Linked DNA regions of Homo sapiens: regions 1 and 2 are each linked to region 3. Evidence: promoter capture Hi-C in human tissues and cell types (Jung and others, 2019). All regions are on one chromosome and are shown on one strand. The core of a region is centred on a gene start or on the middle of the fragment in contact, and the rest is flanking DNA. Distances in the headings are between cores, read along the strand shown. Region 1 holds the start of HRAS (HRas proto-oncogene, GTPase). Region 2 overlaps RIC8A (RIC8 guanine nucleotide exchange factor A). Region 3 holds the start of B4GALNT4 (beta-1,4-N-acetyl-galactosaminyltransferase 4).

Evidence for each region. The method cuts DNA at HindIII sites, captures the fragments that hold promoters and counts their contacts. A contact is called where the count stands out against the background at its distance.
Region 1: a contact is called between the fragment with the promoter of HRAS here and the fragment with the promoter of B4GALNT4 in region 3, in 1 of the 25 tissues and cell types used here (pancreas).
Region 2: a contact is called between a fragment that was not itself captured here and the fragment with the promoter of B4GALNT4 in region 3, in 4 of the 25 tissues and cell types used here (H1 embryonic stem cells, IMR-90 fibroblasts, liver and 1 more).

What each region holds. Positions count from the first base shown.
Region 1 is chr11:534,126-536,825 of GRCh38, reverse strand. HRAS (HRas proto-oncogene, GTPase) reads left to right here and starts at 1,250. Exons shown (of 6, transcript NM_005343.4): 1 at 1,250-1,410; 2 at 2,451-2,614. The coding sequence starts at 2,504. It also overlaps a transcript of LRRC56 not described here. RefSeq lists enhancers at 591-1,298, 1,320-2,176, 2,177-2,700 and a silencer at 2,154-2,313. The HindIII fragment of the contact is 24,710 bases long and covers 1-2,700 here.
Region 2 is chr11:213,077-216,295 of GRCh38, reverse strand. It overlaps RIC8A (RIC8 guanine nucleotide exchange factor A), which reads right to left. Exons shown (of 10, transcript NM_001286134.2): 9 at 2,878-2,997; 10 at 1,183-2,066. The coding sequence ends at 1,946. SIRT3 (sirtuin 3) reads left to right here. Exons shown (of 7, transcript NM_012239.6): 7 at 1-1,266. Among named protein-coding and RNA genes, the nearest start is that of MIR6743, 5.4 kb to the right of the region's middle. The HindIII fragment of the contact is 6,100 bases long and covers 1-3,219 here.
Region 3 is chr11:367,889-371,104 of GRCh38, reverse strand. B4GALNT4 (beta-1,4-N-acetyl-galactosaminyltransferase 4) reads right to left here and starts at 1,606. Exons shown (of 20, transcript NM_178537.5): 1 at 1,151-1,606. The coding sequence starts at 1,301. RefSeq lists an enhancer at 2,535-3,073. The HindIII fragment of the contact is 30,748 bases long and covers 1-3,216 here.

The DNA of each region.
Region 1 (2,700 bases), core at 1-2,500, 170 kb before region 3:
AGGCGGGCGCTGGACTGGGCAGAGGCAGGGTTTGCCTGACTGTAAAACGCCTTTTTTGTTTTGAGACGAAGTAGCGCTCTGTTGCCCAGTGCAGTGGCGCGATTTCGGCTCACCGCAACATCCGCCTCCCGGGTTCCAGCGATTCTCCTGCCTCAGCCTCCCGAGTAGCTGGGACTACAGGCGCGCGCCACTGCAGCCGACTAATTTTTTGTGTTTTTAGTAGAGACAGGGTTTCATCATGTTGGCCAGGCTGGTCTTGAACTCCTGACCTCAAGTAATCCACCCGCTTAGGCCTCCCGAAGTGCTGGGATTATAGGCGTGAGCCACCGCGCCCGGCCCTTTTTGTTTTTTAATGAGGATGTATTTCTGATTCCTTTGCAATTTTAAAAAATGTTAAAAACATGTCTTTTTGGGTTTGAAAGAGCTAGGATGTGCGTCTATGTGCTTGGGGTGAGCCCTGGGCACTTCGCTCCCCTGTGGCAACTTGTGGGTACGGTTTAACTGGACCACGCTGAGCTTCTGCAGCGTTGGAACCTCAAGTTTGGGGGGACTGGGCGGGCAGGGTCGCCTGCCACGCAGGCCCGAGAAAGAGGAGAGTGGTGGAGGGGGCGTTCTCACGCCTGGCCCCAGGGCACACGGCTGCGCCCGCCGCCCGGAACCCCACCGGGGCTGCAAGCGTCCTCGGGGTGGGTTGCGGTGGGAGTAGGGGAGCTGGGGTGCGTGGTGGTAGGTGGGGTGCGCGGCCGCTCCACCTGCGCGGAAGGGCAGCCGGGCAACCGGACCCCGCGGCCACCCGGGGGCCCCCAGCTCCGAGCATCCCGCCTTGGTCCCGGCGGATCCCAGCCTTTCCCCAGCCCGTAGCCCCGGGACCTCCGCGGTGGGCGGCGCCGCGCTGCCGGCGCAGGGAGGGCCTCTGGTGCACCGGCACCGCTGAGTCGGGTTCTCTCGCCGGCCTGTTCCCGGGAGAGCCCGGGGCCCTGCTCGGAGATGCCGCCCCGGGCCCCCAGACACCGGCTCCCTGGCCTTCCTCGAGCAACCCCGAGCTCGGCTCCGGTCTCCAGCCAAGCCCAACCCCGAGAGGCCGCGGCCCTACTGGCTCCGCCTCCCGCGTTGCTCCCGGAAGCCCCGCCCGACCGCGGCTCCTGACAGACGGGCCGCTCAGCCAACCGGGGTGGGGCGGGGCCCGATGGCGCGCAGCCAATGGTAGGCCGCGCCTGGCAGACGGACGGGCGCGGGGCGGGGCGTGCGCAGGCCCGCCCGAGTCTCCGCCGCCCGTGCCCTGCGCCCGCAACCCGAGCCGCACCCGCCGCGGACGGAGCCCATGCGCGGGGCGAACCGCGCGCCCCCGCCCCCGCCCCGCCCCGGCCTCGGCCCCGGCCCTGGCCCCGGGGGCAGTCGCGCCTGTGAACGGTGAGTGCGGGCAGGGATCGGCCGGGCCGCGCGCCCTCCTCGCCCCCAGGCGGCAGCAATACGCGCGGCGCGGGCCGGGGGCGCGGGGCCGGCGGGCGTAAGCGGCGGCGGCGGCGGCGGCGGCGGGTGGGTGGGGCCGGGCGGGGCCCGCGGGCACAGGTGAGCGGGCGTCGGGGGCTGCGGCGGGCGGGGGCCCCTTCCTCCCTGGGGCCTGCGGGAATCCGGGCCCCACCCGTGGCCTCGCGCTGGGCACGGTCCCCACGCCGGCGTACCCGGGAGCCTCGGGCCCGGCGCCCTCACACCCGGGGGCGTCTGGGAGGAGGCGGCCGCGGCCACGGCACGCCCGGGCACCCCCGATTCAGCATCACAGGTCGCGGACCAGGCCGGGGGCCTCAGCCCCAGTGCCTTTTCCCTCTCCGGGTCTCCCGCGCCGCTTCTCGGCCCCTTCCTGTCGCTCAGTCCCTGCTTCCCAGGAGCTCCTCTGTCTTCTCCAGCTTTCTGTGGCTGAAAGATGCCCCCGGTTCCCCGCCGGGGGTGCGGGGCGCTGCCCGGGTCTGCCCTCCCCTCGGCGGCGCCTAGTACGCAGTAGGCGCTCAGCAAATACTTGTCGGAGGCACCAGCGCCGCGGGGCCTGCAGGCTGGCACTAGCCTGCCCGGGCACGCCGTGGCGCGCTCCGCCGTGGCCAGACCTGTTCTGGAGGACGGTAACCTCAGCCCTCGGGCGCCTCCCTTTAGCCTTTCTGCCGACCCAGCAGCTTCTAATTTGGGTGCGTGGTTGAGAGCGCTCAGCTGTCAGCCCTGCCTTTGAGGGCTGGGTCCCTTTTCCCATCACTGGGTCATTAAGAGCAAGTGGGGGCGAGGCGACAGCCCTCCCGCACGCTGGGTTGCAGCTGCACAGGTAGGCACGCTGCAGTCCTTGCTGCCTGGCGTTGGGGCCCAGGGACCGCTGTGGGTTTGCCCTTCAGATGGCCCTGCCAGCAGCTGCCCTGTGGGGCCTGGGGCTGGGCCTGGGCCTGGCTGAGCAGGGCCCTCCTTGGCAGGTGGGGCAGGAGACCCTGTAGGAGGACCCCGGGCCGCAGGCCCCTGAGGAGCGATGACGGAATATAAGCTGGTGGTGGTGGGCGCCGGCGGTGTGGGCAAGAGTGCGCTGACCATCCAGCTGATCCAGAACCATTTTGTGGACGAATACGACCCCACTATAGAGGTGAGCCTGGCGCCGCCGTCCAGGTGCCAGCAGCTGCTGCGGGCGAGCCCAGGACACAGCCAGGATAGGGCTGGCTGCAGCCCCTG
Region 2 (3,219 bases), core at 90-2,589, 150 kb after region 3:
TGGGCCGAGCGGTCCCCAGCCCTCTTCATGTTCCGAAGTGTAGTCTTGAGGCCCTGGTGCCGCACTTCTAGCATGTTGGTCTCCTTTAGTGGGGCTATTTTTAATGAGAGAAAATCTGTTCTTTCCAGCATGAAATACATTTAGTCTCCTCAAAGGGACTGCAGGTGTTGACATGAGTTGGAAAGGGAACCCTGGGATACGTGGCGTCCCCTCTATTGGAACAGTCTGAGGACTGAAGGCATTTGTCCCTGGATTTATTGGAGACGGCCCAGCTCCTCCCTCTGAAGGTGGTCACATTCTGTTGACTCTCCATACTCAGCCTCTCCTCCAGAAACAGATCTGTTCCAGAACATTCCAGCACTTTCTATCTGGCCTCCTTGTCCCCACACTACGCCCCCCCACCCTCGCCAGGGCTTCCTCTAGTGACACTGTTAGAGCTAATCTCTGAGACAGGGAAGGCATTACTCACTTAAAACCCAGGCTGAGTCCTGGCCACCTGCTGGATTGTGACATAGGAGGTGGAATCCACTGAACTGCTACTTCTGCACAGGCTCCTTCTCCTGGGGCTGTACCCAGGCCCAGCCCTGATGGCTCACCCTGTCAGGCACCAGCTGCTCCCTCCTGGGCTCTCACCCACCTGCACATCCTCCTTCCTAGCATCACATTACCTGCGTGTTTCCCCAGACAAAAGCACTTCCCATTCTTGAACCTTGCCTACCCTGGGCTGAGCTGACGGCAATAGATTTAATGACAGTGACTCCCAGGAAGGGGGTCCTGTGACTTTGCGCCTTAATAAGAACAAAAGGTGGAATTGGTGACCTAGGAAAACTGTTGAATTCTAAAAAGAATGAAGTTAGTTTCTAACCCTAGTTAATGTTCCTTTTTTATTTTTTGAGTCTTGCCCTGTCACTCAGGGTGGAGTGCGGTGTTATGATCTCAGCTCACTGCAACTTCCGCCTCCCGGGTTTAAGCGATTCTCCTGGGTAGCTGGGATTACAGGTGTGTCCCACCACACCTAGCACATGGGCATATTTGTAATAGAGACAAGGTTTTGCTATGTTGGCCAGGCTGGTCTCGAACTCCTGGCTTCAAGTGATCCACCCACCTCGGCCTCCCAAAGTGCTGGGATTACAGGCATGAGCCACTGTGCCTGGCCCCTTTATTTGATAATTTACACATACATTTTTGTCCAAAACTCTTCTTTATTTCAAGATGATGTTTCTGTGGCTATGTGTGGTATGTGGTATAAATCTCAATCTATGGTCACACGAGGGGCATTTTCCTTGTTGTAAGTGTAGTCTAAACCAGTAGGAAGGAGGTTTAATTGCCAAAACCAGCGAGAACTCGGGCACTGTGGATACTACAGTGGGCAGCTGAACGAGGACCAAGGAGAATGTCTAAGAGGCCTCCAGCCCTGCGCTCAGTGAAGACAGGACAGGAACAACAGAGCATACATACCTTGGAAGGGTGTGTTCTGATATACTCGTATGGAAAGTTCTGACAGGTTTTCTCCCTGGGAAGTGCAGCACATACCCCAACACACTGGCTCTGCCAGTGTGCCAATCCCAGATGGTGCTTGCTTTGTGTGCACCCACACCCAAACCCCTGCCCTCCCATATGCTCTTCTGTGTGCCCAGGTAGGCCCTGCCCTCAGGCAGCAGCTTCTGAACACATTCCTCTTGGCGCAGACAAAAGAAAGTACTTCGTCTGTGGAATTCGAGGCTGAGCCTGAGTTCTAGCACAAGAAGACCGTTGCAGTCCAGAGATGAGAAACTGGACCAGAGGCAAATCATGAACAGAACGGGAGTCAAGAGAAGGGGTTTCTAAGATGGAGAAGTGGGGGCGGGTGTGGATCCAGTGGGATGTGGCTTCCCCAGGTTGCAACCCCAAGGAAGTCTCTGGAAGCAGCACCAGTCCTGATGGGGGAGCAGAAGAGCTGCCATCCTCAGTCAGGGTCCGAGTCAGGGTCCGAGGAGAGCTGCTGCTCCATAGTCTCGCACATGGCATCCTGCAGGGACGTAAGATGACCCCGGGGACTCATCCCCATTGGCTGGATGACTCTGTTCCTGTTGGGGAAAGGTGCAGTGGGGCTGGGGAAGGGGCCCAGTTGGCCAGGCAGGGGTCCTACTCACCCGTGGCTGCTACCTTCCTCTCTACCAAGTAGGCTGCTCCCATTTACTGGGGAAGCCTGGTTGGACCTTCTGTTAACTGGGCCCAAACCCTAACTGCTGCCTCCTGGCTTTAAGCAGTTTCCTATTTTAAACATCTAAATTGGCCTTAAGCAGGCTCTTAATTTGGACACTGGGCCATCTCCAATAAATCTGGCGACATTAGTCTCTTTTTTTTTTTTGAGACGAAGTCTCACTCTGTTGCCAGGCTGGAGTGCGGTGGCACAATGTCAGCTCACTGCAAGCTCTGCCTCCTGGGTTCAAGTGATTCCCCTGCCTCAACCTCCCGAGCAGCTGGGACTACAGGCGCCCACCACCACGCCCAGCTAACTTTTTTTTTGTATTTTAGCAGAGATGGGGTTTCACCATGTTGGCCAGGATGGTCTCGATCTCCTGACCTTGTGATCTACCTGCCTCAGTCTCCCAAAGTGCTGGGATTATAGGCGTGAGCTACCACGCCCGGCCTTAGACAGTCTCTTAATTTCTCTGGGCCTCAGTTATCATCTGTAAAAGGGGCACAATACTGATCTCAATATACCCATCCCCTGGGGGATTTCCTCCAGGGCAAGTGATTTCAAACGTGAGCAATGCAACCTAATACCAGGATCCTAAGCTCTCCTCTGATCCTACCTCCTGGGGCTCACAAGACAGGATGTGGGTCAGCTCTCCCTTCTCCCAGCTGCAGGCCCCTCCTCCTCATGCCACACACCTGGAGAGCTTGTCAAACATGGTCACCAGCTTCATGGCCTCGTGCTCCTTCTGCTCCTCTGTCATGCCCTCCATAGGGTTAGGCGGCTTCTCCTCCACCCTCCCGGTCACAGGGTTTATGCTGTTTCCCAGTGGGTGGAATGTGGGGAATGCATTAGTGACTCTCCAGGACAGGAGGCAAGCCACCTATTTTCCCAGTGGGGTGAGGTGGGCAAGGCAACTGCAGGAAGAGGCCTCCCTCCAGAAGCGGCACAGGTAACCAGCTCCTGCCATCTGCCACCTTCTGGTATCCCAGATAGCACTTAGGAACAGGTGCTTGATTCTGGAAGCTCTTGCCCATTTG
Region 3 (3,216 bases), core at 357-2,856:
CTTAGACCCCTGCGCTGCTCAGAAAACCACAGAGGAGCCTGCAGAGGGGGCTGGTTTTGTTCTGTGTCACTGGGCCAGCTGTGGATCCTGCCCTGTCTGCTGATAGCTGGGGTGGGGCTTTTTAGGGATTCAGCAGTATCGGGGGTCTCTTGAGGGTGTGGAAGCTGTGAGGTATGTGGGTTGGGACAAGCCCCAGACCCTTGGCCTGTGTGGGTCCAGGCGTCCCGGTACAGGAAGAGAACACAGGGGCTTTGGCAGGTGGAGTGGCCCAGGAGTCCCCAGCCAGTATCATTGTTCTGCCCCCTCAGGACACCTGGCTCCCTGGAAAAGGCTCAGAGGCAGCCAGCTGGGGTCTCTCCTGGTCTGGGCATGGCACTAACCTCCCTCCTCCAGAGGGGGCATTCTGCCCCACCTTCTCCCCCAACCCCACCGCCAGGCTTTCATCTGCGCCTTCCTGTCTGGAATGCTCTTTCCCCCAAAGGTGTATGTCAAAGATCACCATCTCCAGGAGGCCCTACCCCGGCTGGCTCACCGTGACCCCATCTGCTTTGTTTGTGGGTTGGGGTTGGGAGAGTTTACGCCAGGCTCCCCAAGCTGGGCCCCATCCCTACGCATGGACCCCCACAACACTGGCACAGTTCACCGAAGGCGCCCCCGCCGGGAAGCGTCCCAGCTGCACCGGCCACTTCAGCAAGCCCCGGCCCGGGTCCCCAGCACACAGGGAAACTGAGGCCCTGCTAAGCGGGCAGGGGGTGGAGGCGAGGCCTGAGAAGGCCTCTTGGAAGCCTCAGCAGGGTCTAGGGGCAGAGACTTCCCCAGGAGCCCACCGTCAGCCCCTCACTACCGGATCCAAGCCAGATCCCAGAGTCAGGGACCCTCTCTGGGAGGGTCGCGCGCGTCACTGCCGACGTCATCGAGCGTCCGGGCCGAGCCGAACCGCGCCCCCTCCCCCCAAATCGCAGAGCGGAGAACAGCGGGCGGGGTCTCCGGGAGGGTCGGGCCCAGCCGAGACCTCTGTGCGGTGGGAGGCCCGGCCCGCGCCCCGGGGCCCCCGCCGCCCGCGCCGCCCGCGCCCCCCGCGCCGCCCGCGCCCCCCGCGCCCCCCGCGCCGCCCCCGCCCCCCGCGCCCCCCGCGCCCCCCGCGCCGTACCTCGCCCGTAGCCCAGGCGCTGGCGCAGCGCGCGTCCCTGGCGCACCAGGCCCAGGTGCACGTAGGTGAGCCACGCGGCGCAGCTCAGCAGCAGCAGCAGCAGCAGCAGCTTCATCTGCTTACGGATCTTCTTCACCGGGAGCCGCGGCATCGCGGCCGCCGCGCCCGCCCCAGGCCGCGCTCAGCGGCGCCGCTGCAGCCCCCGGCCCCCGCCCGCCCCGCGCCGCATCCCCGGCCCGCCCCGCCGCGCTCAGCGCCCGCGGCCCCGCATGGTCCTTTGTCCGCCGTGCGCGGCCACCGGGTGCGGCCGCGACCCCCCCAGGCCGCCCTCGGCCGCGGGCCCGGGGTGGGCGGCGGGGGCGGCTCCTCGCGGTGCCCCCCGCCCGGCCGCTCCCGGCTCCGCGCTCCTGGGGCGGCGGCGGGACCGAACAGCATCCACGGCTGCCACCGCGGATCGGGCCCCGGCCGCGCGCGCGGAACCAATCGGACCGAGCCAGGCCGCGGGGAGCCAATGGCGGCGCGCGGGGAGGGGTGCGGGGCGCGGGAAGGCGGGGCGGGGCGCGGGGTGCGGGGCGGAGGAGGCGGGGCGAGGGGAGGCGGGGCGGGGCGGGGGGTGCGGAGGGTGCGGGGCGGGGGGTGAGGGGTGCGGGACGGACAGGGATGCGGGGCGCGGGGCGCGCGTCCACCTGGGCCACGGAGCGCGGGGGCGCGGCACACAGACGCGGGGCTGGGAAGCGCTGGGGCTCGGGGACCGTGGGGGGCGGCGGGGGATGGGCACAGCCTGACTGTGGGGCGGGGCGGCCTCCCGAGAACAGTGACCCGAAGGACTGCAGGCGGACAACACGGAGGAGGGAGGGGAGGGACCCGGGGTCCTGGGGGGCGGGGAATGGGGGCGGGCGAGAGAGGCCGGGGGGCGGGGGGGCCCAAGCACCGGCTTCAGCCCAGGGGTGGGAGTCGTTGCGGGATCTCAGCCTGCAGGGCTGGGGCCGCAGGGGGCCGAGCTGTCTGGGCGGCAGGAGGGGCCTCAGCTGGTGGCCCCCGCCCCACCGAGCGCGGCCTGAGGCAGGTGACAGTGTCGTGCCTCTCACCGGGACCTTGTCCCACTTCGTGCCCTTTCTCACCTGGTCTGCACCAACCCCTGCCAGTCCCTCTGTCCCCCCAGTACTTCCCTTGTCCAGCTGCCAGCGTGACCCTACTCTTCTCCCTCTGTCTGCTCAGCTGTCTCTGGGTGTGTAGCAAACCGCCCAGCTTCAGTGCTGTCCAACAGCAGCGTTCCTGTGTTCCTGTGTCCTGTGGGTCAGGAACTCAGGGCACTCGGGGACAGCTCCTCTCTGCTCCTCGAGGTGCTGGCCTCCGGTGGGAAGACGTGAGTGGTGGGGCCGGCTCCGCGGGACAGGCTGGAGCCATCCAGAGACTTCTGCCCCAAGCCAGTGCACCCTCGGCAGGAATGGCTGGGCTCACCCCGGGTGGTTGGCCAGAGCGCCTGCAGGCTCAGCTGCCAGGGGCAGCCTCCCGGTCCAGCACACAGAGTGAAGCATCTTGGAGTCACCCCTCAGGTTTGCCACATGCCGCACGGCCACCCAAGTTCGTGGGTTGTGGGGACGTGGACCCCACCTCACAATGGAAGATTGCCCAGAAGTTGCCTTCTTAAGACCTCAACTCCTTCCCTCCTTCCCCTCCATCCTCCTCCCCTAACTTCTGAGCACAGAAGCAAGCTGGTTACATCCTGCTGTTCATACCGGCCCTTAAACAACACCCGGTCTCTCAAACCTTCCCCCACCCCATCAGCTCCTCATCTCCTGCCTCCTGCAGTCCACTTTTCATATTTCTGTTATCTGCATATTCATTAAAATATAGTGCCCCACCCCTTTTTGAGACAGGGTCTCACTGTGTCTCTGAGGCTAGAGTGCAGTGGTGCAATCTCAGCTCACAGCAGCCTTGACCTCCTGGGCTCAAGCGATCCTCCCACTTCAGGTTCTTGAGGAGCTGGGACTACAGGCATGCATCACCATGCCGGACTAATTTTTTGTATTTTTTTTTTTAACAGATTCAGGGTCTCACCATGT